Linked DNA regions of Homo sapiens: region 2 is linked to region 1. The links are contacts of gene promoters, found by promoter capture Hi-C in blood cells and fetal thymus (Javierre and others, 2016). All regions are on one chromosome and are shown on one strand. The core of a region is centred on a gene start or on the middle of the fragment in contact, and the rest is flanking DNA. Distances in the headings are between cores, read along the strand shown.

Region 1 (3,380 bases), core at 345-2,844:
TTTCCACTAAAAACACAAATATTAGCCAGGCGTGGTAGCAGGTGCCTGTAAAATCAGCTATTCGGGATGCTGAGGCAGGAGAATCGCGTGAACCCAGGGGCAGAGGTTGCAGTGAACAGACATCACACCACTGCTCTCCAGCCTGGGCAACAGAGTGAAACTCCATCTCAAAAAAAAAGAAAAAAAAAAAAAAAAAAGAAGAAGACACTGTGAATCCAAAGTTGGAACCTAGGTCTGTCTGCTTTTTCCACAGCAACACACTATGTCTCAAGGCTCCACCCAAGCACACCGATGCAGTGTGTATCTGGGGTACAAACAGGAGAGGTCCTGAGTGGAGATGAGCCCCCAGAGGACTTCAGGTGGGGGATACAAGAGGATAGCAGCTGCCCTTCGTGCCCTGCCATTGATTTCTGTCTAGGTGAGCCAAGCATTAGTGTGAGGAAGCAGGATGGAGAGATACAGAAAGAGGAGGGGCTGGTGGGGCCAAAGGCTTATTTCAGTCTGGGACACTGTTCAAGGGGATAATGTCCACGAGTCACAGAAGGATTTGCGTTTCCACCATCACCAGACAGACAAACTGGCATGCACATCCCACGTGCTCTGATGACCAGACCCCACCCTCCTCACCTGAGACGTTACCACCCACGTAGATGGCTATCGTAACGGCCAGAGAGCCAGCCAGAAACATGGTGAAGAAGTTGCCTTTGGTTTCTCCACTGGTGACAGCCTGGGCCACAGCTCCTTGGGTGAGGAGCTGCTGAGAAGAGGAGAGATGAGGAACAGGGAGCCCAGGAGACCAACAGGGAGAAAGGTTGGGAAGGCCAGGGGAGCAGCCAAGGAGATGAATGAGCACAGAAGACAAGCAAGGGAAGGAGAAAAGCAGAAGGAGGGAAGGGAAAAGAAATGGGGAAAGTGGAGGAAGAAGAAAGGGAAAGAATGTGGGAAAAAAGAAAAGAATTTACCCAACTCATAGGCATTTGAGGGTACAAACCCATGGCAGGGCTCAGCTTTAAAAAGTCTTATCTAAGATTCTTTCTATGGAAGAGTTCCATCAAAGCCAATTTTAAAAGCCTATGTGAAAAATAATTATTCTTGCTGCACTTTATACAATCATCAGGCCAAGTATAATAAAGCACATTGGTCTTACCATGAAAATGGTCTTTCATAAAAATGGGAAACTGAAGAGAGAAAAATTATGTTTCAAGAACTATGATACACTTGTTATTAAAGAAAGAATAAAAATGACAAGAATAAAAATGATGAAGTAGGAGAGGAAAGGAGATTAGGAGAGACGAGAGGATAAAAACGAAAAGTGATAGGGAGTTGAGAGGAAGGGGGACACCAAGAGAAAGAGATAAGGACAACAGAAGGAGCCAGGAACTTTTGCCCAACCCCCTTCTTTCCTTCCCGCAGTGATCCTACCTACCATGAGTACAAACACACCCAGAAACTCTGCCAGGCACTGCCGGGCCAGGAGGCTGCGTATCCGGAGGTGGCCCATGATTTCAGCCGGGGCCTGAGTGAAGACCATGGTGGAAACACCCTATTGCTATTCACTGCTCCCTCTGTCTGCATAGGCACACTGTCACTGCACAGCTACTGCCTGCCTCCAGCAAAGATAAGGAACAGACTTTAAAACCATTAGCTCAGTTCCTGAACAGCAGCTACGTGTCTGTGCACGTGTGTAGGCTAGGAAACAGAGAGATAACAAGAGAATGTCTGGGAGCAGGCTATGAACACAGAGCCTGGAGTTTACCCAACCTCTGTCTCTTTTACCCTTCATTCCCAGTCATCACAGGACTAGCCTCCCCCATCCTGACAAATAGAAGGAAGTACCCCGCTTCATAGACATTAGATCTCTTGGTCCTGAAGTCAGCTCTGCAAAGTAGTACTATTGCTTCCATTCTACAGATGAGGCTAGTGGGCCTTAGAACTCCCCAAGATCAAACTTTTTTTTTTTTTTTTTCTGAGAGAGAGTCTTGCTCTGTCCCCCAGGCTGGAGTGCAGTGGCACCATCTCAGCTTACTGCAACCTCCACCTCCCAGGTTCAAGCAATTCTCCTGCCTCAGCCTCCCAAGTAGATGGGACTACAGGTCCATCACACCTGGCTAATTTTGATATTTTTTAGTAAAGACTTGGTTTCTCGGGAGGCCGAGGCAGGCAGATCACGAGGTCAGGAGATCAAGACTATCCTGGCCAACATGGTGAAACTCCATCTCTACTAAAATACAAAAAAATTAGCGTGGTGGTGCACGCCTGTAGTCCCAGCTACTCGGGAGGCTGAGGCAGGGGAATCACTTGAACCAGGGAGGCGGAGGTTGCAGTGAGCCGAGATTGTGCCACTGCACTCCAGCCTGGCAACAGAGCGAGACTTTGTCTCAAAAAAAAAAAAAAAAAAAAAGACGGGGTTTCACCATGTTGGCCAGGCTGGTCTCAAACTCCTGACCTCTAGTGATTCACCTTCCTTGGCCTCCCAAAGTGCTGGGATTACAAGCGTGAGCCACCGTGCCCGGCCCAAGATCACACAATTATTTCATGGCTGAGTGAATTCAAATCCAGATTTTCTGACTCTCCAGCTGGTAACCCACAAAGCCTCTCATTTAGAACCTGAAGCCTTACCCCAAACCATTTGGATGCTTGAAGAACTCAATAGGCATCTGGAAAGACTGGGCTAAAGACCACAGACTGTGGGAATGAAACTCACATATTGAGTGCTTGTACTTCCCTTATGCCGAGTGTCACATAGGTTAGAGAATACTCCATCTTTGTGTCCCCTGACATGGCTTGACATGAGGCCTTCACACTCATGCTGAGCTCCACCTGGCCTTCTCTGGGTGCATGCCACTCTTGCTCTGCATGAAGTAACCGCATCCTACTTCTTCATATCTCAAGGCTCCAATTAAATGCATTCAAAGAATCTACGTCTAGACACTGGAGAAACAGTGGTGAACAAAACATAGTCTCTGCCCTCCTAGAGCTTATGTTCTAGTAGGTGGAAACAGACAATATGCAACTTTTTAAAATACCATATACAGTTTATGAAGTTCTTGAGGGCTACCATTATGATTTATGTAACCCTGTGGGCTCTACCACTGTCCTGGGCACATCTGTGTGACTAGTAAAGAAATAATATTTCTTTACTAGGTTTAATGGATACTATAGTGCTCCACCCAGATTCCCCCTTGGGAGCCAATATGCCCATTCGCTACATGTAGGAAATACCAGCTGCTGATACCACATAGCTACCTCCCTCATTGGGCAATGCCCTTCAAGTCAGAAAGATGCCTCACCGAAGGTTACATGCCCTCCTATGGGGCCCATGTCAAACACTGATTGATGGAGGGATATAAAAGTCTAGCCTCTTTGCCTCACTTTGCGAC
Region 2 (3,069 bases), core at 382-2,881, 210 kb before region 1:
TGACAGTGTCTTACTTTGTTACCCAGGCTGGAGTGCTGGCACAATCATAGCTCACTGCAACCTCAAACTCCTTCAGGTCAAGTGATCCTCCCATCTCAGCCTCACCAGTAGCTGGGACTACATGTGTGTGCCACCACACCCGGCACATTTTTTGTCGACAGGGTTGCCCAGGATGTTCTCAAACTCCTGGCCTGAAGCAATCCTCCCACCTCAGCTTCCCAAATCCCAAATTCCAAAGCACTGGGATTACAGGTACACACCACTGCAGATGGCTTACCCTTATATTCTCTCTCTCTTTTTTTTTTTTTCTTGAGATGGAGTCTCACTCTGATGCCCAGGCTGGAGTGCAGTGGCATGATCTCAGCTCACTGCAACCTCTGCCTCCCAGGTTCCAGGGATTCTCCTGCCTCAGCCTCCCGAGTAGCTGGAATTACAGGTGTGCACCACCACGCTTGGCTAATTTTTGTATTTTTAATAGAGATGGAGTTTCACCATGTTAGCCAGGCTGGTCTCAAACTCCTGACTTCAAGTGATCCGCCCACCTCGGCCTCCCAAAGTGCTACCCTTATTCTTGACTGACTTGTTTGGGCTTGGATATTATTTTCCTGAAGAATTCAATCACACCACCTGATTCCATATCCTTCAATGTGGATTCTCTTCCTAAAGCTTTATCCCTAGTATTCTAAAATACTTCTGTAAAGTGCCTTCATGTAGGTTTTTATTTTCCCATTCATTATCCTGGGCACTCATTGGCTGCTTTGTATCTGAAAACTCACATCCTTCACCCATGGGAAATTATCTTATATCATTTGATAATCTCTCCCCCACGCTGACCTGAACACTGCCTGGATGCGTGTTGTGCCACGTAAGCTTATCTTCTAATTTTACCTTTTCTTTTCTTTAAAACAATTTCACTACAAAATATTTCAATCAACAAATCCTCTCCCCAAAAAGCAATAACAAATCTTGACAAATTGTCAAAAACAATCACTTCAGGACTCTGGAAATTGACTGAAGCATACAAGAAATTGAAAACATCTATTAAAAAGAAAACAATAACAACAACGACTGACCTTTGTACGAAAACAGTGAGCATCTGGGGCTTCCCCACTCCCCACTCCTTCAGCGGATAGTTCTACCAGGATGGGCAAAGCCATGGAAACCAGGAGCATCAAAGGTGGCTGACTTGATCGGAGCAGGCTATGGAAAACCACCAGGTGTTGTCAGAAACTGCCACCTCGTGGTAAGCAACGGGAAAGTTGCAGCCTGGCTTTTATGCATCTTCACCTACAAAAGGTGCCTATTCCTAGCTCTTGCCCATTTTTCTATTAGGTTGTTTCTTTCTTGCATTGATTTCCAGGCATTTTCATCCTGTTTATTTTTGTTTTTTAAAAAATAGCCTAGATCTTAACCCAGGAACTGGCAAACTTTTTCTGCAAAGGGCCAGATAGTAAATATTTTAGATTTTGGGGGCCTTACTGTCTGTCATGAGTCCACTCTGCTGCTGTAGTGAGGAAGCAGCCACAGGCAATCTGTAAACAAATGGCTGAGGCTGCATGCCAGGAATGTTTCATGGACACAAACTGAATTTCATACAATTTTCATGTGTCATGAAATATTCTTCATTTTTTTTCCCATTTAAAAATACGGCTGGGGGGTCTCACGCCTATAATCCCAGCAGTTTGGGAAGTGGAGACACGAGGATTGCTTGCCAGGAGTTCAAGACCAGCTTGGGCAACATAGTGGGACCCCATCTCTACAAACAATAGAAAATTAAAAAAAAATATATATATATATATATATGGCTGGGCACAGTGGCTGCCCTGCAATCCCAGCACTTTGGGAGGCTAAAGCAGGAGGATTGCTTGAGGCCAAATCAGCTGGGCATGGTGGTACACGCCTGTAGTCCCAGCTACTCACGAGGCTGAGGCAGGACTGCTTGAGCCCAGGAGTTCGAGGCTGCAGTAAGTTCAGATCACACCACTGCACTCCAGTCTGGGCAACAGAGCAAGACCCTGCTCTAAAAATATAAATAAATAAAAACCATTCTTAGAACCTCCACTCTGAGAAGATGAAATATACATACTTCATCTTAGTTTTGTTAAACACAACTAAGAGCCCAGGACATTACATGTAAAACAAACATAAGAAGACTCTGAAAGATGGAGAGAAGGGAACAGGCTGACCAGAGACCTTGGAACCCAGGGTACAACGTGGTGATGACTTCTCTGGGTTTTCCTTTTGCTTTATATATTCCAAACTTAGAATTGAAGAGGCCAGCAACCCAGAAACACCAGTAGGTCCAGAAAAAAAAAAAAAAAAAACCCAACAAAAGCCTGCTCTTTCTAGCCAAAGCACCAGAAGAGACAGGCTAGGAAGACAGAAAGCTTGTAGATAATAACTCCTTTACTCCAGCTAAATGCCACCAACAAGGAGATCCCACCTCCACGCATGCCAACAAAGACAGCATGCAGGGCCCAGACTTCTGCCCTCATGGGGCTGGGATGAGTCGCCCAATACCCCCACCCTGATGGTGTCACAAAGGGCCAAGCAGGCAGCCAGGAATTTCATCCCCTACCCAATAAAGAAACCGGTCTCTCCCTACCACCACCCTGCCTGGGTGTCAATAGAAACCACTTGGGAATCCTGGACTTCCATACCCACCTCACAGAGAGAAAGCCCCCCTCTCTCTCCCTACTGGGGGGGGTGTCAGAAGTGTAGTGGAGAGTCAAGACTTTCCTCAGCGGTAATGAAGCCATCCACGCCAAGATGTCAGTGGAGACCACAAACTAGAACTGGCAGTAACAAGGGGCTCGCTGCCGCCTTAGAGGCTGAGTAGGGAGCCTGACTTCCATCCTCACCTGGCAGCAGCGAGGCAGTACCGTGTTCCCCTGTGGGAGCAGCATCAGAGGAAGCCAGTTAAAACACAAGGTGTATACAAAATCTAGTCTAGCAACGTAACAAGAAAATGTCCAAGTTTCCAGTGAAACTCACTCATCATACCAAGAACCAGGAAAATTTCACATGGAATGAAAAAAATGAGAGGCGACAGCGTGCTGGCAGCCCTCG

What was found. The method cuts DNA at HindIII sites, captures the fragments that hold promoters and counts their contacts. A CHiCAGO score of 5 or more calls a contact.
Region 2: a fragment that was not itself captured here is called in contact with the fragment with the promoter of AQP10 in region 1 in 2 of 17 cell types (M1 macrophages and endothelial precursors); the score reaches 5.5 in M1 macrophages.

What each region holds. Positions count from the first base shown.
Region 1 is chr1:154,319,307-154,322,686 of GRCh38, reverse strand. AQP10 (aquaporin 10) reads right to left here and starts at 1,594. Exons shown (of 6, transcript NM_080429.3): 1 at 1,427-1,594; 2 at 628-754. The coding sequence starts at 1,531. RefSeq lists a silencer at 1,624-1,815. The HindIII fragment of the contact is 12,155 bases long and covers 1-3,380 here.
Region 2 is chr1:154,532,609-154,535,677 of GRCh38, reverse strand. The region is part of intron 6 of TDRD10 (tudor domain containing 10); the gene reads right to left. Among named protein-coding and RNA genes, the nearest start is that of UBE2Q1-AS1, 19 kb to the left of the region's middle. The HindIII fragment of the contact is 1,517 bases long and covers 873-2,389 here.